Linked DNA regions of Homo sapiens: regions 1, 3 and 4 are each linked to region 2. Evidence: promoter capture Hi-C in 16 types of primary human blood cells and fetal thymus (Javierre and others, 2016). All regions are on one chromosome and are shown on one strand. Each heading gives the region's core, a stretch centred on a gene start or on the middle of the fragment in contact. The rest is flanking DNA. Distances are from core to core; before and after follow the strand shown.

Region 1 (2,700 bases), core at 123-2,622, 200 kb before region 2:
TAAGTGACTGATAAATAGGCTTAAGTTATTTAAACTGGCACTGAGCGCAACTTAAACAGTATGTTTTGCATCATCTAAATTTCTAAATACCTGGAGTATATTTGTAAACATGGCAATCTAACATGTTATTGAACAGCACATTCATATTCAAATTAGCATAAACGAGGATTTAACAGCTGATTGCACAGCGTGAATGATAGTAACTAATTGTCAAGTTGGAAAGTTGCACAGATAATAGTACTAATGCGATCAGCACACAGCAATATGACTTACAGTAGCAAATTCACAAATTTTCAGCTTGCTGCCCAAGTCCTGTACATAAAAGAAGATTCTGAATTAAGGCAATGTGGCCAAAATGGGCAGTCAGAAGGGAAAAGAAGAGAGAGAAGGAAGAATCGAGCTAGGTTTGAGGGGCGGTGTGAAACTTTTCTTTCCTCCATGCAAGCCTTCACCTCTTTTATAACAGTCATCAATGGGGCTCCCTGGCCATTCAGTGCTGTCCCTCTTATAGGAAGCAATTGTTCAGAGGTGTGGCTCATTTCAGGCATTAATCTCTGATGAATGGCGGCTGTGCCTGGAGCCTGCAGGCAGCTGGTCAGTGGAATGTAACAATGACCACAGGAGGAGAATGGGCAAATGCTTCACTGCAGATGCTGCATCCCCAACATTGACCTTGGTCATTTCCCTCCCAGGGTGGCGTGGCCCCTCGCAGCAGGAGCCTGGCTTTCTGAACAACTGCCATTGTGGGCAAGGTGGCAGCTACCTGCGGGATTTGTCCCCTCCTAATAACATTTAGACCCAACAGGTGGTCACAATGAGGGGTGGAAATTGAGGCAAACGTGGACAAGACTGCAGAAGGCAAAACACAAAAACAAAACCCCTAATTTTCAGGGAGGAACTTTGTTGCAGAGATTAGCGACTACATGCTCAGCAGGTCTGGTCGGAGGATCTGAAGTCCGGGTGTTGAGCAGCCATCAGGGGAAGTGGCTGTTCTTTCAGCCCAGGGCTTGCCTCCGGCATGTCCTCCATCCACTGGTCACCAGCCTGCAATGTTAGCCAGGAGTACTAGGGACACTTTGCCCCAAGGTATTTGCAGAACAGTGGGAGGAGGAGAAATGTGACAAATAATTTGGGTCTCTGCCCACTCCTAGTGCCTTCTATGCCTTTAAATCCCTCTACACCCCACCAGGAAATATATGTCCCTATCCTTATCCCTTCTCCCCATCCCGATCTCCATCCCCATCCCCATCTCCACCTCTCTGTACCTTCACCTCTACCTCCATCAGTCTATCATACCTATCTATTATCTATCTATCCATCTATCATACCTGTCTCTATGATCTCTATCATTGCTATCTCTATCATATCTATCTCTATAATCTCTATCATTGCTCTATCTATCTATCTATCTATCTATCTATCTATCTATCTATCCATCTATCTGATATAGTTGGGCTGTGTGTCCCCCTCCCAAATCTCATCTCAAATTGTAATCCCCATAATCCCCACGTGTCAAGGGAGGACCTGGTGGGAGGTGATTGGATCTTGAGGGCAGTTTCCCCCATGCTGTTCTCATGACAGTGAGTGAGTTCTCACGAGAGTGAATGGTTTCATAAGTGTTTGGCAGTTCCTCCTGATCTCTCTCTTTCCTGCCTCCTTGTGAAGAAGGTTGCCTGCTTCTCCTTCTCCTTCCGCCATGATTGTAAGTTTCCTGAAGACTCCCCAGCTATGCAGAACTGTGAGTCAATTAAATCTCTTTCCTTTATAAATTATCCAGTTTTAGGTATTTCTTTGTAGCAGTGTGGAAATGGAATGATACACTATATATCAATCTCTATCATCTATCTCTATTTATCATGCTTATCTGTCTACCTATCTACCATATCTATGATATCTATCATTATCTAACTATCTGTAGCTACTATCTATTGATCTATTTATCTATATCTACTATCTATCTATCATTTCTGTATCTCTGCCATCTCTACCTATCTGTCTATCATCTATCTGTTTCTATTATCTACTATCTACCTATCTAACACAGAAACATAGATTTGGTCATGTACTACTTATTACTTCTATGCCTTTAATGACTCTAACCATTATTGACTCTGCATTGACAACAAAAAGTCTGAACTTTTAACAAGGATTGAAAGTCTTTCACAATCTGTCTTCACCTTGGCTTTTTAGCATCTTCTTTCCCTCTCCACTCCCCACAACAGGTGACAGATACTGTGCTAGGTACAGTATGTCCTGTACTTCCTCCCTCTCCACTAACCACCCTCATCACCCCTCTCACTGCCTCCAATTTCCTTCCCCCCAGGGCCTGGTCTCAGAGCCACACTAGGCCATGGGACTCTTGTGTCCCTGCCCCAACTCTGCTCTTCCCCCTCTGGCCGCCATCCTTGCGGTCTCCTCTCGAGACTTCTTTTCTCTGTGAACCCCTGTCTCGCTGCACTAATGGCTTCTTCTTCAGAGCTCCCGCCTGTCGAGAGCCAAACATGGCTGCCTGTCTGCTGGTCTGAGGATTCCTTTCTCACTGTACCCCAGGGCCCAGGAGCATTTCCAGTAGAATAATGTGTGTGTGGGGGGCAGGGGTAGGTGGGGGGATGAGTGTAGATTGCCTTGCCTGCCTGCAGGGAAGCCAAGGCCTCAGGCTGTAGAGCCAGGCAGCTGCTGGTCCTAGCTGCACCACTTACC
Region 2 (2,725 bases), core at 69-2,568:
ACCCATGTGGCAAATATTGGTGGAAGAAAACCAGAACAAAGCAGCCCTGAAACCAGCAAGCACAGCCACCAAGATGCCCTCTTCCCCAGGACATTGACAAGTTATAGTAGCATGCACTGGTGCTGGGGGCAGAAAATGTCCATAGACACCAAGTAATGCTATTCTATTTGGCAAATAAAATGATTCATTCCCACCCTCAACCGATAGGACTATGTGGGTGTTTTGTTTTGTTTCTAATAAGAGGCCAATTTCTGAGTGACTTTTGCTTAAGCAAATGTCAAGTTGCTGATAGACCATCCCTTTCGGGGAGGATAGAAACCCGACCCAAAGGCTCCTTTGTCCCTAAAGACCTTTCAATCAGAGGGATGGGGAAGGAGGTTGGGAGCAGCAGGGAGGAAATATCCTAATGCTACTTGTCATTTAGTCCAGAAATTTAGCGACCTGAACCTGGCAGGAAATTATGTATTTTAAGAAAAAAAAAACATGATACACTCATGTTCATAGCAGCATAATTCGCAACAACCAAAAGCACCCCAAATGTCCATCAACGAATGAATGGATAAACCAAATGTGGTATATCCATATACTGGAATATTATTCAGCCTTGAAAAGGAAGAAACTTTGATACATGCTACAACATGGATAAACCTTGACGACAATATGCTAAGTGAAAGAAGCCAGTCACTAAAAGACAAGTGCTGTATGATTCTACTTATATGAGGGACCTAGAGTAGAACAAATTCATAGAGACAGAACAGAAGAGTGAATTCCAGGAACTTGGGTCGGGGGGAGTGGGGAGTTGTTTAATGGGTGGAGCTTCAGGGTTGCAAGTTGAAAAGAGTTCTGGAGATGGGTTGCACAACAATGTGAATTTAATTTAAATCAATTTAATGTGCACACTAATGCATATAACATTACTGAACAGTACTCTAAACATAAGACGGTAAATTTTATGTTATGAATATGTGATCACAGTTAAAAAAAAATATGAGGGAGGTTGTTTTTGAGTAGACAGTTGCTGGAGGAAGGCACGTGAGTTGCAGCCTGACCAGTGCGACCAGTCCTCCTTCAACAGCCCCGCTTGCCTTGAAAAGGCGCCCTTACTCCGCTCAGGGGGCCTGTCCCGCGCGGCTGGCACAGGCGCTCACAATAACCTCCTAAAGCGGTGCCAGCCGCACCTCCGCGCGGCCCCGGCACAAGCAGCCAATGAACACGCGGCTGCGCCCGGCCTCGCGCCTCCATTGGCTGCGCCCCGCCACCCGCTGCCCCGCAGGTTCCCAAGCCGGGTTTAAAGGGGTAGGGCGCGGGCCAGGGCCCCACCATCGTTTCCCCGCGCGCAGGTCCGCGGGGAGGGGCGGCCTGCCGACCGGCCCACCCCAGGGCGTTCCTGAAGGGCGTCCTCGGCCGCCCCCACCGCCTCCCAGATGTACTATGCGGTTTCCCAGGCGCGCGTGAACGCGGTCCCCGGGACCATGCTGCGGCCACAGCGGCCCGGAGACTTGCAGCTCGGGGCCTCCCTCTACGAGCTGGTGGGCTACAGGCAGCCGCCCTCCTCCTCCTCCTCCTCCACCTCCTCCACCTCCTCCACTTCCTCCTCCTCCACGACGGCCCCCCTCCTCCCCAAGGCTGCGCGCGAGAAGCCGGAGGCGCCGGCCGAGCCTCCAGGCCCCGGGCCCGGGTCAGGCGCGCACCCGGGCGGCAGCGCCCGGCCGGACGCCAAGGAGGAGCAGCAGCAGCAGCTGCGGCGCAAGATCAACAGCCGCGAGCGGAAGCGCATGCAGGACCTGAACCTGGCCATGGACGCCCTGCGCGAGGTCATCCTGCCCTACTCAGCGGCGCACTGCCAGGGCGCGCCCGGCCGCAAGCTCTCCAAGATAGCCACGCTGCTGCTCGCCCGCAACTACATCCTACTGCTGGGCAGCTCGCTGCAGGAGCTGCGCCGCGCGCTGGGCGAGGGCGCCGGGCCCGCCGCGCCGCGCCTGCTGCTGGCCGGGCTGCCCCTGCTCGCCGCCGCGCCCGGCTCCGTGCTGCTGGCGCCCGGCGCCGTAGGACCCCCCGACGCGCTGCGCCCCGCCAAGTACCTGTCGCTGGCGCTGGACGAGCCGCCGTGCGGCCAGTTCGCTCTCCCCGGCGGCGGCGCAGGCGGCCCCGGCCTCTGCACCTGCGCCGTGTGCAAGTTCCCGCACCTGGTCCCGGCCAGCCTGGGCCTGGCCGCCGTGCAGGCGCAATTCTCCAAGTGAGGGCGGGCCTGGGCCTGGGGCGCGACCTCGGCCCGGCCTCCCTTCGCTCAGCTTCTCCGCGCCCCTGCTCCCTGCGTCTGGGAGAGCGAGGCCGAGCAAGGAAAGCATTTCGAACCTTCCAGTCCAGAGGAAGGGACTGTCGGGCACCCCCTTCCCCGCCCCCACCCCTGGGACGTTAAAGTGACCAGAGCGGATGTTCGATGGCGCCTCGGGGCAGTTTGGGGTTCTGGGTCGGTTCCAGCGGCTTTAGGCAGAAAGTGCTCGCTCTCACCCAGCACATCTCTCTCCTTGTCCCTGGAGTTGCGCGCTTCGCGGGGCCGATGTAGAACTTAGGGCGCCTTGCCGTGGTTGGCGCGCCCCGGGTGCAGCGAGAGGCCATCCCCGAGCGCTACCTCCCCGGAGCGGAGCACGCCGGCTCCCAGTACTAGGGGCTGCGCTCGAGCAGTGGCGGGGGCGGAGGGGTGGTTCTTTTCCTTCTCCTCCGC
Region 3 (2,700 bases), core at 18-2,517, 200 kb after region 2:
TTGACTTAGCCTTTCTGAGCCTCAGGTTTTTTGTTTCTGAAGTAAAAGGATTGGACTAGGTAATCTCCAAGATCCTAGGAACCCAGGAGAAAGATGAGAAAATGTACAAGAATGAACACTCAGGTGGAAATGCTGCAATCCTGAGAAGCTCCCAGGATGAATGAAAGGCACAGGACCTCTTACCCCTCACCCCTGCCCCCCTCAAGAGCTGGTTTCTCAAACCTTTCTCTTAGGCCCCTTCAAAGGGGGAAAACTAAAAATTATACAAGTTATAGTTCAAGGACTTTAAATAGATTATTTATATGATTGCTCATAAGGATGAGGCTGTGAGGAGGGAACACCTTATTTAATCTAATGAAATTCCATAGGAAAGAGGCCTTTTGTATATTGAATCAATTTATCTGCCTTCTCAGTGCATCTGTCATATTCTGAAAGATTCTGGGTTGATCTTTTGCGATAACCTCTATGGCTGTGAGTGTGTGTGTGTGTTTGTGTATTTTTTAACATTTTGTATAATGATTGGAGGTTGGTAAAAAGTAACACAACAGTACTTTTTTAATACAAACTTGGTGTGGTCTTGAGTTGTCTTCCATTGGAGAGCGTACGTGTGCCACAGATTGGTGCACCTGCCGGCATCTCTAGGATTGCACCAACTCCCTCTAGCTCTTCTTGGTGGCCTGCAGGGGCCTAGGGCGCATTCACTTCCCTCTGCTTGACTTTACGTGGTGTTCTAGCGTCAGACATCAGGCGATGCCGTGCATTACCCAAGACACTGGACAGCTCCGGATCTTCCCGTCTAACCACTAATCAAGTTAAAAAGAGGAAATTAACGCTTTCTTAGTAGTCTCTGAAAGAAACTAGTTATTTGCGTAAAGATGACTTGGTTTTGTGTTGTTTATCCCTGGGGAGAAGGGTAAAGAAGACCCTCAAACTGGATTTGCTGCTGAAGTGCTTTTAACTCACCTGTGCGGAGAGCGGACTTCAAGAGAGGGCGTGCCGGTGCTCCGGACAAAACCTGGGGAATACTGAAAGCCACCACCACCACCGTCATTCCAGCATGCAGATCTCAGTCCTGGGTTGGTGTTGTAGGGCATTTATTTATTTGACTTGACGGCGCCTTTCAAAGCTTGCGAGGATCCCTTCCTCTTCCTCGTGTGCATCTGCCAAGCCTGTGCCCCGCGCCTCGCGGGTGGACCCGGGCTGGTGGGCGGGGCCTGCAGCGGGGTGGGAGCCCGGTCGCCCGGCCCCTCCCCACCCCGCCCCGCCCATCTCCGCTGGTTCCCGGAAGCCGCCGCGGACAAGCTCTCCCGGGCGCGGGCGGGGGTCGTGTGCTTGGAGGAAGCCGCGGAACCCCCAGCGTCCGTCCATGGCGTGGAGCCTTGGGAGCTGGCTGGGTGGCTGCCTGCTGGTGTCAGGTGAGGGGTCCGCGGGGAGGGGGCGCGCTTGGGAACCGGGAGGCCCCGCGAGATGCCGCCCCTGATCCCATCCCTGGGCGCCCTGCAAGTGACTTAAGAGCCTTCGGGGCCTCGGGAGAGAAGATGCAAACGCCACGGCCGGCTGCTGAGACGCAACTAGGCTGCTGCTGCCGTCGATTCTGTAACAGGAGAAAGCCCCATCCGCGCCCGGATTACAGACCGTCTGGGCCCTAAACTCAGGGGGAGACTCCCGGCGTCTTTTGATTCCCTGTCCTCCTGCAGCTCTCTGCTGGCGGGCGTCTAAATAAAGTAGCTTCCCCAAAAGACCCAAGATCCCACCGTGGCTGTCATCTGACCCTTCTGGAGACTATCAGTTCAAGTGGAGGCCCCCACCAGTCCCCGAGTGCCCTGACAGCCCTCCCTGACCCCAAGTCTGCCCCCTCAGTGCCAGCCCTCCCTACAGATGTGCCTCCCATCACCCGCTGCACCTCCCCTCCTTCCGGTTCAGGCCCGAGCACCCTGAAATCTGGATTCTGTCCCCCAGCGCCCCAGCTCCATGGCTTCTAAACCTAAATCCATTGAAACCTTTTCTGTCCTCTAAATTGACTGCCTAGGTTCCAATAACACCATGGTCACCTCCTTCCTTTCTCATGAACTCTTCCCTGGCCTTCCGGGATACCCCTCCGGTTTCCCGCCCTGTCAGGCTGTCTCTGCTTGGGACCCTCCTGCTCTGTCAGGTTTCTATGTAGCTAATTGTGATGCCCAAGGCCTTTTCTCTCCTTCCCTGGCACTGTTCCTTTGGGGGATTTCAGCCAAACCCTGGCATTAAACACGGGCTATAGGCCCATGACTCGCACATTTATATCTCTCTTGGTACCAGTTGGGTGATGGGTGGTGGTTTATTATAGTCTTCTACTTTTCTACTTGCATGTAGGTTTCAAATTTTCTTTTCTTTCTTTCTTCTTCCGTTTTTTTTTTTGTTTGTTTGTTTTTTTGTTTTTTTGTTTTTTTTTGAGACAGGGTTTTGCTCTGTTGCTGTGGCCCAGGCTGGAGTGCAGTGGCTTGATCTTGCCTCACTGCCACCTCCGCCTCCCGGGTTCAAGCGATTTTCCTCCCTCAGCCTCCCGAGTAGCTGGAATTACAGGTGTGTGCCACTACGCCTGGCTAATTTTTGTATTTTTATTGGAGATGGGGTTTCGCCATGTTGGCCAGGCTGGTCTCGAACTCCTGACCTCAGGTGATTCACCTTCCTCAGCCTCCCAAAGAGCTGGGATTACAGGCGCGA
Region 4 (2,700 bases), core at 138-2,637, 230 kb before region 2:
ATGGAAACTATTTTTTTAATACTGTTCTAGGAGTACTGGCCAGTGCAATTAGATAAGAGGAAAAAAAGCTGTAAATATGGGGAAAATTATTTGCAGATTACATCATTATATATCTCTAAAATCCATATAAATCAATTGAAAAGCTGTTAGAAATAATATGACTAAGTACCTGGTTATAAAGTTAGTTATACAAAAATTAATAGGCTTTTTCTGTACATAAATATAATGGGATGAATTGATCAATTTCAAGTCTGATTGGCTGGATGATTTTTTTTTCCTCTGCAAACCAGACCTTCTCTGCCTCTGAGCAGTGGTCTGTAACAGGATGAATTTCTGTTGGATCAGCTGAAGTGGTGGCTTGGGCAGTGAGGCAATTCTTCATCAAGACATACCTTTTTGTTGCTTCTAATTACCTGCTGGCAGGAACTAAAAGTGTGTCTCTTGTATGCATGCCATGTGTGTAAAATTAGAGTCTTTGAAATTGTTCAAATAAAGAGGATTAGTTATAGTTGTAGGGAGATATAAAGACTAAGCCAAAAGAAGCAGAGTTTATCTGCCTTCACACTTCACCCATCTGTTAACCCGGCTGAGACACATTTTCTTGTAGCATTAGTATTTTATGCACTGTTTTTCTTGATATAGTAACAGATTTAATTCATTCTTTATGGTAATAGATCCCTTGTATCCATAAAGAAAGAACATATTCCATCATTACCTTAATATCATGTCTAATACAGAGTGGCCGTACAATTGGAAAGTTATTTCTCAGACCACTAAACTTACACATAAATGTTAAACACTGTATATTACTTTTAAGCTTACTTTTGATCTGCTATCAAACCTAAGAAGTTGTTTTATTTTGATTAACTCTATATAATAGTTAATTTTTTTCCTCTAAAATGTGTTTTAAAGGCTGAAGCTGTATTTGACATCATTTTTAAAGCTATGTGATTTATTCTTTTTTATTCTCCACTGTCAAATATACATATTTGAAGATATGTATGGTAATACCATTTTCAAGCACTAGCTAGTTTAAGGAGCATAGAGCATGGTAAGTGATATAAAACTTCATTCACCCATAAACCCCAAACCCCTAGTACTGAATGCCCACATATATCATCCTTACTATCAGAGAAATTATGTTTATAACATATGCTGAGTTCAAGACCAGCCTGGGCAACATGGCAAAATCCCACCTCTATGAAAAAATATGAAAATCAGCCAGGTGTGGTGGCGCACCTGTAGTCCCAGCTACCTGGGGGGCTGAGATGGGAGGATAACCTGAGCCCTGGCAGGTCAAGGCTGCAGTGAGCCATGATTGTGCCACTGCATTCCAGCCTGGGTGACAGAGTGAGACCCTGTCTCAAAAAAAAACAAAAGAGAAAAGCATTCAGCTTTTTGCTTCCTACATGTATGTCACCACATAAACAAAGGAAAGTGAGACTCAAGTTACCGTAAAAGAGTCCTTCACTGGAAGCAAATCCTCAACTGTTTTAGAAAAATGAGTTTATGATCATTATTATTTTGCTAAAAGGATTCTTTATTTCATCACAGGAACCTTCTACTAACCCCCTTTAGTCTAAAAAAGCTCTAATCTATAAAAATTAAAAATATATAGATCAATTTGATCCTTATAGTTTATCCATCCAATAATTTTTTGGTTAATATTTGCATGGCAGATAAATCTTTACTTCCCTTATTTCTACCTCCTGTATTGAGTGCTCAATCAACTTTTAAATAAATTATCACATGTATATATACATAATAAGATTACTTAACATTCCTATGTTGAATTTTGAATTTGTTTCATTTGTTCATTCATTCTTACATCCAACAGATATGGATTGCAAACCTACTACATGGCAAGCATAAGTGCCCCGGGGTTATGGCAGTGAACAAAATTCTTATCCTCATACAGTTTATCTTCTGATTTGGTGGATATGAGAAACTGGTGAACTTAAGCTTAAAATCAATCAGATGCTGAGTTTGTTATTAAAAAACAGAAAAGAGAGCTCAGGTTAAATACATGCACTAGCTAATCTAAATCTTTCTTGGAAGTAGACTTGGTACTAGTCTCTCAATTATCAATCATTTGGGCATTCTGTGATGATTTTATTATATCCTTAATTGCATTGCAGAAATGGAAAAAAAATTATCTCTTCCAATTGCCGTTCCCATCTGATGAGTCCTTCATGGGAGCAACAAGCAGCTGATTTGCCATCAGCTTTGTACCAGTGTAGGGGCTATTTTGGCAACAACATATGCTTTGGTGTCAGAGTAACTGACCTTCGAATCTTAGCTCTTACTATGATATTGGGCTAGTTACTTGATTTCTCTGAGCCCATTCTTCCATCTGTTAAACAGGCATATTAATCCTGCTTTAAAGGAGTATAATTCAGATTAATGAAATAATCGGTGTATAGTACCTGGCAGGTCAGAGCTCCCCTACCCAAGGTCCCCATTTAGTGGCAGAGCCAGGATTAGATCCCACATCACCTCACTCTGGTGCCAGTCCTTGTCTCGTACCATGTTTACATTTAATAATCTCTGGTGATTTTACTCACATGACGAGACAATAGATTTATTCATCATTTATTAAGAAGACATTGAGTTCTTTGCTGTGCTGCCTCTTTGACCTCTCTGGGCCAAAAATGAGGGAGTTGTATGAGGCTCCAGGGTCTCTTTTAACCATGCACTTCT

What was found. The method cuts DNA at HindIII sites, captures the fragments that hold promoters and counts their contacts. A CHiCAGO score of 5 or more calls a contact.
Region 1: a fragment that was not itself captured here is called in contact with the fragment with the promoter of OLIG1 in region 2 in 1 of 17 cell types (naive CD4 T cells); the score reaches 5.4 in naive CD4 T cells.
Region 3: a contact is called between the fragment with the promoter of IL10RB here and the fragment with the promoter of OLIG1 in region 2, in 5 of 17 cell types (neutrophils, non-activated CD4 T cells, erythroblasts and 2 more). The highest score is 9.0, in neutrophils.
Region 4: a contact is called between a fragment that was not itself captured here and the fragment with the promoter of OLIG1 in region 2, in 6 of 17 cell types (M1 macrophages, M0 macrophages, naive CD4 T cells and 3 more). The highest score is 8.0, in M1 macrophages.

The regions. Positions count from the first base shown.
Region 1 is chr21:32,868,255-32,870,954 of GRCh38, forward strand. No RefSeq gene overlaps it. Among named protein-coding and RNA genes, the nearest start is that of EPCIP, 56 kb to the left of the region's middle. The HindIII fragment of the contact is 4,133 bases long and covers 1-2,700 here.
Region 2 is chr21:33,068,823-33,071,547 of GRCh38, forward strand. It overlaps OLIG1 (oligodendrocyte transcription factor 1), which reads left to right and starts at 1,319. Exons shown (of 1, transcript NM_138983.3): 1 at 1,319-2,725. The coding sequence starts at 1,425. The coding sequence ends at 2,240. The HindIII fragment of the contact is 4,947 bases long and covers 1-2,725 here.
Region 3 is chr21:33,265,100-33,267,799 of GRCh38, forward strand. IL10RB (interleukin 10 receptor subunit beta) reads left to right here and starts at 1,268. Exons shown (of 7, transcript NM_000628.5): 1 at 1,268-1,415. The coding sequence starts at 1,367. All of the region lies in intron 7 of IFNAR2-IL10RB (IFNAR2-IL10RB readthrough), which reads left to right. It overlaps IFNAR2 (interferon alpha and beta receptor subunit 2), which reads left to right. Exons shown (of 9, transcript NM_001289125.3): 9 at 1-565. IL10RB-DT (IL10RB divergent transcript) reads right to left here and starts at 1,161. Exons shown (of 2, transcript NR_038974.1): 1 at 964-1,161; 2 at 533-803. RefSeq lists enhancers at 784-843, 874-943 and a silencer at 1,114-1,523. The HindIII fragment of the contact is 8,663 bases long and covers 1,125-2,700 here.
Region 4 is chr21:32,836,936-32,839,635 of GRCh38, forward strand. No RefSeq gene overlaps it. Among named protein-coding and RNA genes, the nearest start is that of EPCIP, 25 kb to the left of the region's middle. The HindIII fragment of the contact is 1,145 bases long and covers 816-1,960 here.